4 separate regions of the Homo sapiens genome follow, and all the other regions are linked to region 1. The links are contacts of gene promoters, found by promoter capture Hi-C in human tissues and cell types (Jung and others, 2019). All regions are on one chromosome and are shown on one strand. The core of a region is centred on a gene start or on the middle of the fragment in contact, and the rest is flanking DNA. Distances in the headings are between cores, read along the strand shown. Region 1 holds the start of ZFP64 (ZFP64 zinc finger protein). Region 2 overlaps ATP9A (ATPase phospholipid transporting 9A (putative)). Region 3 overlaps TSHZ2 (teashirt zinc finger homeobox 2). Region 4 overlaps TSHZ2 (teashirt zinc finger homeobox 2).

What was found. The method cuts DNA at HindIII sites, captures the fragments that hold promoters and counts their contacts. A contact is called where the count stands out against the background at its distance.
Region 2: a contact is called between a fragment that was not itself captured here and the fragment with the promoter of ZFP64 in region 1, in 1 of the 25 tissues and cell types used here (dorsolateral prefrontal cortex).
Region 3: a fragment that was not itself captured here is called in contact with the fragment with the promoter of ZFP64 in region 1 in 1 of the 25 tissues and cell types used here (pancreas).
Region 4: a contact is called between a fragment that was not itself captured here and the fragment with the promoter of ZFP64 in region 1, in 1 of the 25 tissues and cell types used here (dorsolateral prefrontal cortex).

What each region holds. Positions count from the first base shown.
Region 1 is chr20:52,190,493-52,193,192 of GRCh38, reverse strand. It overlaps ZFP64 (ZFP64 zinc finger protein), which reads left to right and starts at 1,414. Exons shown (of 6, transcript NM_018197.3): 1 at 1,414-1,602. The coding sequence starts at 1,557. RefSeq lists enhancers at 533-662, 1,703-2,559 and silencers at 1,073-1,342, 1,703-1,942. The HindIII fragment of the contact is 31,514 bases long and covers 1-2,700 here.
Region 2 is chr20:51,667,828-51,670,527 of GRCh38, reverse strand. It overlaps ATP9A (ATPase phospholipid transporting 9A (putative)), which reads left to right. Exons shown (of 28, transcript NM_006045.3): 13 at 419-531. Among named protein-coding and RNA genes, the nearest start is that of ATP9A, 99 kb to the left of the region's middle. The HindIII fragment of the contact is 5,724 bases long and covers 1-2,700 here.
Region 3 is chr20:53,001,190-53,004,048 of GRCh38, reverse strand. All of the region lies in intron 1 of TSHZ2 (teashirt zinc finger homeobox 2), which reads right to left. Among named protein-coding and RNA genes, the nearest start is that of TSHZ2, 30 kb to the right of the region's middle. The HindIII fragment of the contact is 3,150 bases long and covers 1-2,859 here.
Region 4 is chr20:53,147,041-53,149,740 of GRCh38, reverse strand. The region is part of intron 1 of TSHZ2 (teashirt zinc finger homeobox 2); the gene reads right to left. Among named protein-coding and RNA genes, the nearest start is that of TSHZ2, 180 kb to the right of the region's middle. RefSeq lists a silencer at 325-525. The HindIII fragment of the contact is 3,082 bases long and covers 1-2,700 here.

The sequences.
Region 1 (2,700 bases), core at 165-2,664:
CAGATAATATACAACTAAATTATATCTAAGCAGATATACTCGAGATACATAATATGTTCCATCTAACACCTTTTAAGGACAAAGCAGGCCAGGCATGGTGGCTTACACCTGTAACCCCAGCACTTTGGGAGGCTGATGGAGGATCGCTTGAGGCCAGGAATTCGAGACCAGCCTGGGCAACATCTCTACAAAAATAAAAATTAAAAAGTGAGCCAGGGTGGTGGCCCACGCCTGTAGGGGGGATTGCTTGAGCCCAGGAGTTGGAGGCTGCAATGAGCTAGGATCCGACCACTCTTCCAGCCTGAGAGACAGAGAAAGACCCCCTCTCTAAAAAAAGAAAGGGAGAAAGAGAGAGAGGCAGAGAGAGAGAAAGAAAGAAAAGAAAAGAAAAGAAAAGAAAAGAAAAGAAAAGAAAAGAAAAGAAAAGAAAAGAAAAGAAAAAGAAAAAGAAAAAAACAGGAAGGAGACAGGGAGTGGTTGGGGGAGGAGGAGGGGGCTGCAATATTAGAATGATTAGATTAGGCCAAGCATGGCCTCCCTGAGTGTGAATTTGAATGCTGACCTTCAGAAGCAGGACAGACTCTATGGGCAAATCCCTCGAGGCTGGGAGAGGTCTGAGGCTTGGGAGGGTCGGCAGAGAGACAATAGGGCTGACGCAGGAGCCCGGGGGAGACAGTAGTAGTAAGACATGAGGGACAGAGCAGAGAGGTCACTGTCCTCAGAGTGTGGACGCCGACCAACACTAGGGGCATCACCTGGGAACTTAGAAATGCTCGTTCTCACGCCTCGCCCCAGACCTACTGAAGCAGAAACGCTAGGGTGGGCCCAACAGCGTGTGTTCTAACAAGCCTTTCAGGCGACTGCGATGCACGATAAAGTTGGCAGCTCCTGGAGCAGGGGTCCCTCCGCGCTACGACCCCACCTCTTCGCGGTCCTCTCAGTCTCCCTAGCGGGGCAAGGGACCCGCCCAGCGCTTTGCTGATTTGCCCAGCGCTCACGCCCAACCTGGGTTTCTCCGGAGCTCGCCGCGCCCCGCGCACCCACCCCGCAACGGCAGCCGCACGTGGGTCTCCCCGCAAACCACCCAGGCGTCCCGGGAGCAGCGCTGCTGCACGGCCGCGCTGGGGGCCCAACGCCTGGGGTTGCAGGTGCAAAAGGCGCCCCGAGCCGGGGAGGCCAATCGCGTCCGCGGAGAACGCAGAGTGCGGGCAGGGGCGCATCCCTCGCCACCCGCGGTCGCCCAGCACGCCGGGACGCGCGTGGCCATCCAGCTCCCCGGGGGCGTTGGGGGGCTCCGCGGGCCTGGGCCTCGGGATTCGCCCGCCGCTTCCCCGGGGAGCCGCTGCTGCAAAGCCAGGTTGGGGCGCCGGGCCCGGCCAGCGCCCTCTAGGCAGCGGAAGTGCAGCTTGCTTTACATCCGTCCTCCCCGCCTCGCAGAGTTGGGAGAAGGCAGGGTGGGGGGTGTGGAAAAATAAAAGGAAAAGTCCTTGCACCATGTAGATCAGCGTCCCCCACTTTGGCATCCCGGCCGGCCGGGGACCTCCCAGTCTGCGGCCATGAACGCGAGCAGCGAGGGCGAGAGCTTCGCGGGCTCGGTGCAAAGTAAGTGCTTTTCCGGGAGCAGTGCGCGCTCCGGGGCCCAGTGCGCGCTCCGGGGCCCGGGCCCAAGCACGTCTGCGACGCAGCCAGCAGGCCCGGGGCCCCGAAATCGGGGTGACGGCTCGGAGCCGCGTCTCGGGGACCGCGGCGGGCGCGCTGTGCAGGGGGCGCCGGAGTGGGCTTGGGGTGGGGGCGCACCCGACCTGGCGCAAGACCGGGGGCGCTCTCCAGCCTTGCGAGACCCCTTGGAAGGGAACAGTGGGGGAGGGCACGCCGTTCAGACAATCGCCACCCCCTAAGGGCATTCCCGCCCCATCAGGCGGAGTTTGGGGCGGGCAGGAGAAAGGGAGGAATCTAGGGTAAACGGGGCAACACTGATGGGAAAACTTCTGCCTCAGTGGCTCAAAATTAGAGCCTGGAGATTGGGGGAATCACCAGGTCTCACGAGGTCCTGCCGGCTCATTGCAAAGCCTTTTCCTCATTAAGGGTGGAGATCTGAATGGAAAACGGGGCCGTGGTCGCTTTATTTGGGTTTGGGGTTCAGTTTTTATTTAACCGAGGAGGACATCAGCGTTTTTCAAGTCCCTGGTTTCTCCCGGTGCATTGTTTCCCAAAGTGTGGTCCAGAGACTGAGTGCAACCAGCCACCTGGGAGCGAGAGCGTGTATTTTAAAACAGCTTTCTGGGCCCCACCCATTCAATCTCGGGGGTGGGGCTGGGGATCCGCTGTCCTTCGTAGCTGCCTGGGCAACTCTGAAGCACATGAAGTTTGAGAACCCATCTACCAGGGGTTTGCAGAAAATCTGGCACATAGTAAGCTCCCAGCTTGTTAGCTGCTACTGTTAACAGTTTGGGAGACACTGGGTCCCAAACTTGGCGGTGTATTCCTTGCATTACTGTGAAAAGCACAGATTTTCCTAAACACCATCCTCCCCACCCCACCCTGTTATGACTCAGTATCTCCTAGGTGGGGCTCAGATATGTCCATGTTTAAATAGTGTACCTCAGTAAGAACCCAGCAGGTAACATGCTGGGGGACTGGCGGGGAGGGGGGACTGTGCTGGTACGAGCACCATCCCATTTAATTCTCATAACAAGCCCG
Region 2 (2,700 bases), core at 26-2,525, 520 kb after region 1:
GTTAAGTCAGCATTAGGACCCTCCAGGTGGTCTCTGTAGGGCTCTGCCATTAGGGATGTATCTTTCTACTCAAGGGTCAGAATCCTTCGAGATAGAATCTGATTGCTCTAGTGTATGTCATTTGTCACCCTCTTGGCCAACGGAATGGGCCAGGCCCCTGATTGACAGTCCTCTTGGGCCACCTTAGGTAATGGGCATGGTGTGGTTAATTTCCCCTGGGAAAGCTAGGAAGCCATTTTCAAAAGGGGAATGGGATTCTAGGCAGGCAAAATGCTGCAGGTGTCTTCCCCAGCAGGGACAGTACTGACTGCAGTGTGTGACATAGGGCAAACTCTCCAAAGATGGCAGCTGTCATTACTGTTAATAATAACAAACATCCTGAGAGACAGGCCGGCCACTCATTTGTCTTGTGTTTTAGGCACTCTTACCCAGAACGAGATGATTTTCAAACGGCTCCATCTCGGAACAGTAGCCTACGGCCTCGACTCAATGGACGAAGTACAAAGCCACATTTTCAGCATTTACACCCAGGTAAAGCCTTCCATTTCAACACCCAAAACAATTCTTTGACTTTTTTTTTTTAACAGCTATATTGAGATGTAATTCACAATACCGTACAATTCACCCATTTCAAGAGTACAATTCATTGTTTTTTTTTAAGCATATTCAGAGTTGAGCAACTGTCACTGCAATCGATTTTATGTTTACCCCAAAAAGAAGCCCTCTACCCATCAGCAGTCACTCCCCAATACCTCCCTTCTATACCCATGACACCCACACTTCCTTTACACTTTGAATAAAATTGCATTTGGGGTCCTTCCCCATCTTCCCTATCTTCAGGGCTAATCTGCTCTGCTGAAGTGCTGATGGACATTAGGAAAAACCTGTGAGAAAATTATATGCCCAATAAATAGAACCAGAAGGAACCTGCTGGTTGATTATACTTCAAGTTTACGACCACGTTGATGTTTTCCCTTTCCCTGGCTATGACCCGGAGCACCAATAACAAATGGTCTGCTTGTGAAATAATCATGACGTTACTGATTACCTTTAGTTTCTCATCTACATTCAACTCAACAATCACGAGGAAGAAATTAGTTCATCAGAGATAACTTGCAGTTTATCTGTTCCTACCTTTATTTTTCCTACCAAGTTTCCCAAAACCAGTCACTTTTCAGAGAAAGTATTACTGGCAAATATCCTAATATTCCTAAAGTGTTAGACCGGTGGGTCCCCATCTTGGCTGTGTGTCAGAATTGCTGGTGGAGTTTCAAAACAACACAGAACAAAAACGAGACATTTATTTGGGCTTGATACCCTGGAGATTCTTACTCATTAAGACTTAGGGCAGGGCGTGGCTTTGGGTTTTAAAAGTAAGACAAACACACCCCTTGCTAATTCTGAGGCACATCCAAGGCTGAGCCAGACCGCGTTAGACCAGCTCCATGTTGCAGCACTTGTTTGGAGATAACAAGAGAATAAGGAGGTCATATTTTGCTTAAATTCGTCGAAATAGAGAACATTCCCATAGTCAGAAGACCAGTAAGAAATATGAATGAATTATCTCTGTATACAGGTTAAAGGCAGAATCCCTGAATACTTCTTGATACGGTCATAACTGACATTTAATTTTCTGGAACATTTGTCAGTGGGCTGGATTTCCAGGCTGTCTCCTGAAAATGGCAGAGCAGGGGACAGTGTGACAGTGGGAGTGGATGTTAAGTTAGAACAGCTGACTTGACACAGTTCTTGTCATCATCTACAACCAGCAACAAAGCCCTTGTTGCTGTTCCAGGCTCCATGGGGAGGCGTCATGGCTGGTCTCCAAATGGATCCATGGACCTTTTTCAAAGATGTACTTTAGCACTATTAAGAAATCACGAGGAACTTCCCTGGACAGGGAGGATGAGCCGCACAGCCCCCGTTTCCTTTCTGTCTCTTTGACCGTCTTCCTCTGTGTGGTGATTTGGGGTTGGTGTCTCTGGGGCTCGGTGCTGGACTCTGTTATGTTGTTCCCCGGATGGCCCCTCACCCTGCTTCCATCGCTCTGTGGATGCTGATGGCTCTGTCTCCATCTCCATCTCTAGGCCTGACCTGGAGCTTTGGATTATAACGTAGCCGAATGTTTGGCATTGCTGCATGTGGCTCATAAGGATGCTGTACCTGGGACCCCTCCTGACTTTCTTCCCTCATCTCCTAAACCTATTCTCTCCCAGGGCTGCTTGTCTTAGTGCACACCACGCCCTCCATCCTGGTACCCTCGTCACCCCAGCTGACAGCCACTGCCCCTTCTCCAGTACCTGCTCCCACCCGATCACTAGATCACCCCTTCGGCCTTTTTTTTTTTTTTCCTTCTCCCTTTCTTCCCTTCCTTTCCTTACCCTCCCTCCCCTCCCCCAGCCCCTCGCCCACTCCCAGCCCTTCCGCCCCCCCCCCCCCCCACCTCCCTTCCTTCTTTTGTAACAGGGTCTCACTCTGTCACCCAGGCTGGAGTGCAGTGGTGCAATCACAGCTCACTGCAGCCTCAAACTTCTGGGCTCAAGCAATCCTCCCATCTCAGCCTCCCAAGTAGCTCGGACTACAAGTGTGCACTGGGTATGCACCACCACACCTGGCTAATTTGGTTTATTTTTTATAGAGACGAGGTCTCACTGTGTTGCCCAGGCTGGACTTGAACTCCTGGGCTCAAGTGATCGCCTC
Region 3 (2,859 bases), core at 197-2,696, 810 kb before region 1:
GCCTGCTTTCATTTGGCAGTGATGAAAACAGGGCATCGAATATGAACTCCCCTGAACTTTCCACAGACACTGAAGCTTCTAGAACAGGATGCATACTGTCCATGTGGTATGAGTGTGCACAGCTTACGGAAAGAAATAATTAAAAAAAAAAAGAAAAAGAAAAAAAAGAAGGAAAGAGAAGGAAAGAAAGAATTGCTTGTGCAGCCAGGAAATATTTTGCTATGGACAGCACATCCCAGGTCCCCAAGATGAAATATTAATGTACAATTTGTTTATCTGTGGGCTCGCATCTTTCCAGCACTGAGCTGTTAATTTTCTATCAGCACAGACAACGGATCAGTCAGTCATGAACTCTTCACAGCCATTACCCGGAGACATTTTGATTAAGTATGCCTAATGTAGTGGATAGGGAAGAATGAAAACACTCTGCCTGCCAACTAGTGATTGACCATTAAGCCACTGATGAATGTGCCTGTCAGAGAGGAGACAATTACCTCAACAATGAAGAAACTCTTCTGGAAGGCTTATTTCTCCATAGGGCTGACACATTTTACCAGATTACAGGCGTGCCAGTTTGAAAGCGTGTAAGCCGATCACTAAGGAATCTTCTCAAAAGTTCACAGAGGGAAGGAGTAAAAAGAAGGGCCACAATTTTCTCAGGCCTGCTCATACCTCGAGCTTCCAAAATAAGATCCTGAGCTGTCCAGCGCTTGCGAGGAAGGTGCACTGACTTAATATTTAGGAAAAAATTTCACACACACACACACACACACACACACACACACACACACACCATCCCTGGAGAAAAACAGGAGGCTGATGAAATAAAATAGAACCCCAGGTAGACAGGCAGGATGTTTCTCCCCACAATGAAGGACAGTACCTGGACGGTGAACTAAATTTCATACTGGAAGTGCTTAGAAAAAGAATTTAGTTTTGACATTTTGTTATCTCTTAAGCTCGAGGCAGCTTTATTAGATAATGTATTTGTCCTTTAGTGTGTCTCTTATTATGTCTACAACGTAGAAGCACAATTTAGAGCTGTCCATTACATTATGAAGTCATTGGTTAGCAACTGGGAAGGAATCCCAGCTGTTCTCTCAAGTCCTAAGGTTTATGAAGCCTCATAATCAATAGGCCCTGGGAATGCAAGGTGATGGCCATTTCTTCAGAACATGAAGACTTAGGAATTAAAAAACTGAGATAACTGCTCACAGATAAACTTCTATTGATTTATTAATACACACGTCGTACCTGGAGAATGTGATAAAACTTATGTTCTTTAAAGCTTGCCCGTAGGTCCCAAATACTGTACTGGACATCCTTATACTAAACATTCTTTTATATTATCTGAAATTCAAATTTAACTGTGCATCCTGTTCTTTTTTATAAATTTATTTTTTATAAATAAAAATATTTATTTTCTTTTTTATAAATTTATTTTATTGCTAATTCTGGCAACATCACTTAAGAGGTAACATCAAAAGGTGGGTAAAAGCATAAGATTTCAAGCCAGAGAATGGAGGCTGTGGTTTGGGGCAGACCATGACCTCTCCTTGAGCCTTGGTTTATTTTTCAGGGTAATGGAAAGAATAATCATGCCAGCTTATTTGTTAGGAAGATGAAAAAAAGATAATGTATGACAGTTTCTTTCATTTTGTATTATTTTTAGATTGTGATTGGCTGATGGACGCTCCACAAAGTATGAAATTTACTCAGAGTTAAACCAGAAGGGTCGACAGCACGGGCTTGGAAGTCAGGTACCCCTGGCTAGGTAGATCAGCCTGGCCTCTAAGCAGCTGCAGAAGCTTGGCCGAGTCACCTGACTTCACTGTGTGCCTCTTTGTCATTTCTAACATGGATACCATTATGTCTCTTTACTGGGGTGAGAATTAAAATGCAAAAATTCACCCAAAGCCTGTGTGGCACAGAGTAAGTGTCCAATAAGTTCCGGCTCTCACTTGTACTACAATGAAGTGATGTGAGTTAAGGTGACAAAAGCAACCTTAGATTTTCCTCCCTGGGTTGGTTGTGTGCCTCACAATAGAGCCTGGTGAGTGTTGACAACTTCCGTTTTCTTTTTATACTTCCTTTAAGCCTTGATAAAAAGGTCACAATGATGTTCTTTAGTCCGTTCTCCATCAAAGCAGTGAAATATCATCCAAGCAGCTCAGGAACTCCGTTCTAGACAAGCCTTCTCAAAACCACAGCTATGCCACTATCAAACAATGATACTCTGTTTATGAAACTCAATAGGGAAGACATACGTAACGTTAAACCTTCCTGAAATGTCACACACTTTTAAACAAGTGTTTTAGTTGTGCATGTTTTACCTCTTTTCTTTCAAAATGAAACAGAAGACGAGGTGGGGCTTTATTTAGTCTGGGGCAAAAGAAAAAGTTTCATCCAGCAGAGTTTAGCTCCCCTGTCAGATGATAAATGAGACAGGTGATTTTTTCGCTTCCTTATTCTTGAAAAAGCTAGCAATGGTGAGAAACAATCATCTTTAGGTCTGAGTGAAGCAAGGGGTCTTCCTTTCTCCTATTTTCCTTTCATCCTCTACCTAGCATTATTTCTTCTCGAATGTGTTTTTAACACTAGTTGTTCAAACAGGTCATGAATCCTTTCTCCTTCCTTGATATACATTTTGACTGTTGCCAGAAACTACCTTTGATGTGTTCCTGTAGAGAATAACACAGGCTTTCCTGTTTGTCTCAGAGCTGCTGAACTGAAGCTTCAACTACAGAGAACAAAACCATCTGCATTTAAAAAAATATCAGCACCCCCTCCCAAACACACACACACACACACACACACACACACACACACACACACACACACACGCACATGAACGCACAC
Region 4 (2,700 bases), core at 181-2,680, 960 kb before region 1:
GTTTTCCTGCCTCAGCTCTTCAATGATTGGACTGCAAGTCATGCCCTGTATAGTACCAAGTCTGTCTCCATGCCCTACATAATATGTGATGAGAAGAAGTGCTATTAAAGAGGTTTCCTGTTACGGTCTCCTCATTGGCACCATGAGCTGAGCGGAAATCTCTGAAGGACTTATTTAGCATGCACACACTAGAACTGAACTAAAGCAGATCCTTGCATTGGCAGCTCAAGAACTTTAAATGCCCCTGGCAGAAACTCCTCCTCTCTTTCCTCCCCCTCTTTCTCTCACTCCCTTTTGATGTTCTCTCTTTCTTTTAGCCTATCGTTGACAGTAAGTGCAATCACATTACACACAGCTTTCTTTGGAAAGCCCCCTTTTTAATGATCTGGCAGACACTGAGCCCTTCCAGAAAAAAAATTTCAATCCCTCTTCCCACAGCTTCCGCAAGCCCCAGTGACAAATGACACCTGTCATTCTGTCACAGACAAGCAGCACAGACAGGGATGTCAGTGATGTATGGCTCACCAGCAGAGGAAATCAACTTTAAAAAAAAAAAAAAAACCCTAAAAGAGCTGACCAGTACATTGTCAGGATCCTGCTCCCAAGGCCTCGCCTAACAGACAGACTGGAAGAGAGACAGAAAAAGTTTCAGCTTGAGGGGGAAGAATGTATAAGATCAAAACACAGAAATATTTATCTACGGAGAAACTGGCATCAAGTAAGCCACAGATTGCTTTGCATTGTTTATTTCTTTGCAGTGCTCTGGATATTAGCCAAATTCTCACCTCCTCCTGTGATTTATGGAGGAAAAGGTTGATTCCTGCTCTGTGAGAATTCTCTTTCTGGAGCCTCTGAAAAAAAGTGAGTCAACCCGAGCTTTGTTTGTTAAGCCTAAATTACCCCATTTTACACTGAGTCCAATGAAAAGCAATAAAATTTCCAATAACCCCCAAGGGATTCCCTCCATACAAAGACTGTACCCTGAAGATTAATAACCTGCCTTTTATGTTGATGGCAATCTCAGAAAAGATTGGGAGATGTCTTCATTTTCTTTATCTATATATTTTTTCTATTTTGTATCAACCCCCACCCCATGATCCATACATATTGAATGCAAAAACTTTTTTTTTCTTTCAATCAAAACCACTGCACTTAGATCCACTTGGGGTCCTGATTTAATAGGCAAACTCAGCCACATTCTCAAATTGAATATGAGCATCTACAGGGTGTCAGGCCTGTACTATATCCAGAACAAGAAATTAAGAAATAGAAAGCAAAATTCTTCCTATGCAGGATTTCTCATCTTCAACACTATTGAGGTTCGAAGCTGGATCACTCTGTGTGGTGGGCGGTGTCCTGTGCACTGTGGGAAGCTTAGCAGCAACTCTCGCCTCTACACGCTAGATGCTAACAGCTTCCCCACCCTAGTTGTTTCAATAAAAAGTGTCCCAGACAATGCAGAATGTGCCCTGAGAAATGAAGTTGCCCCAGTTGAGAACCACTGTTCTAGACATTTGAGATCAAATCCCCAAAGAGAAATAACATTCATGTGATCAATTGAAGTTCGTAGATAATTAAACACTAAATAGTACGATATAGAAAATATTAGCTGTAGGAATTTAGAGACTTTCCAAAAGACACATTTGTATTTATCAGGTTTGTGCAAATGCCTCTATTTTAAGCTGTGTAACAACAACACAAATCTTGTTATAAGACATAGACCCACTGGCCGGGCATGGTGGCTCACGCCTGTAATCCCAGCACTTTAGGTGGCTGAGGCGGGCAGATCGCAAGGTCAGGAATTCAAACCAGCCTGACCAACATGGTGAAACCCCAGCTCTACTAAAAATACAAAAGTTAGCCAGGCGTGGTGGTGCATGCCTATAATCCCAACTACTCAGGAGGCTGAGGCAGGAGAGTCACTTGAACCCAGGAGGTGGAGGTTGCAGTGAGCAGAGATGGCACCACTGCACACCAGACTGGGCAACAGAATGAGACTCTGTCTCAAAACAAAACAAAACAAAACAAAATAGACCCACCACTTATTTTATGCATGTCTTATGCATAGATATGATGGAACTGAATATTGGTTTAAAACAAACAAAAAGAAATCTTAGTCTCACACAAATCACATTAATACCACAGTGATATGGCAACCAACAATCAAAAATTTCTTTTCTAATGATATTATGACATGACATTATTAAAGCTTTGAAAAATATTGAATTAGTATTCATTAAACAATATTATTAAATCTTTGTGAACATTTAAGTTTCTAGACTGGATTGAAGAAGGTAGGACTACAATTAAACTTTTGTGTCTATGCCTTTTTTGTAGATGATAGCACAAAACTGTTAACATACAAATCTTCAAAATGGAGTTTATACAGAGATATTAAAGACATTCTTTGACCTACTGAAAGAAAAGGGGATGAAAAGAAAGCTGAGCCCAGTTTCCAGGCACCATGTATAATATCTAAGGTTGTCACCCATCAATTGTCACTAAAAGAGATCAAAGTTAATTTAGAAGAGACAGATAGATTTATCCATGTATAAAGCCAATAATGAGAGTCACATGAGGAAACAAAAAATATGTAATAAGCTGAGTTGAGATCACAAAGAATAAAAAACAAAAAGCATGTAATTAATACATTGGGCACAAAATCAACCTTAGCATCAAAATGGAAGAAGAAGACATCAA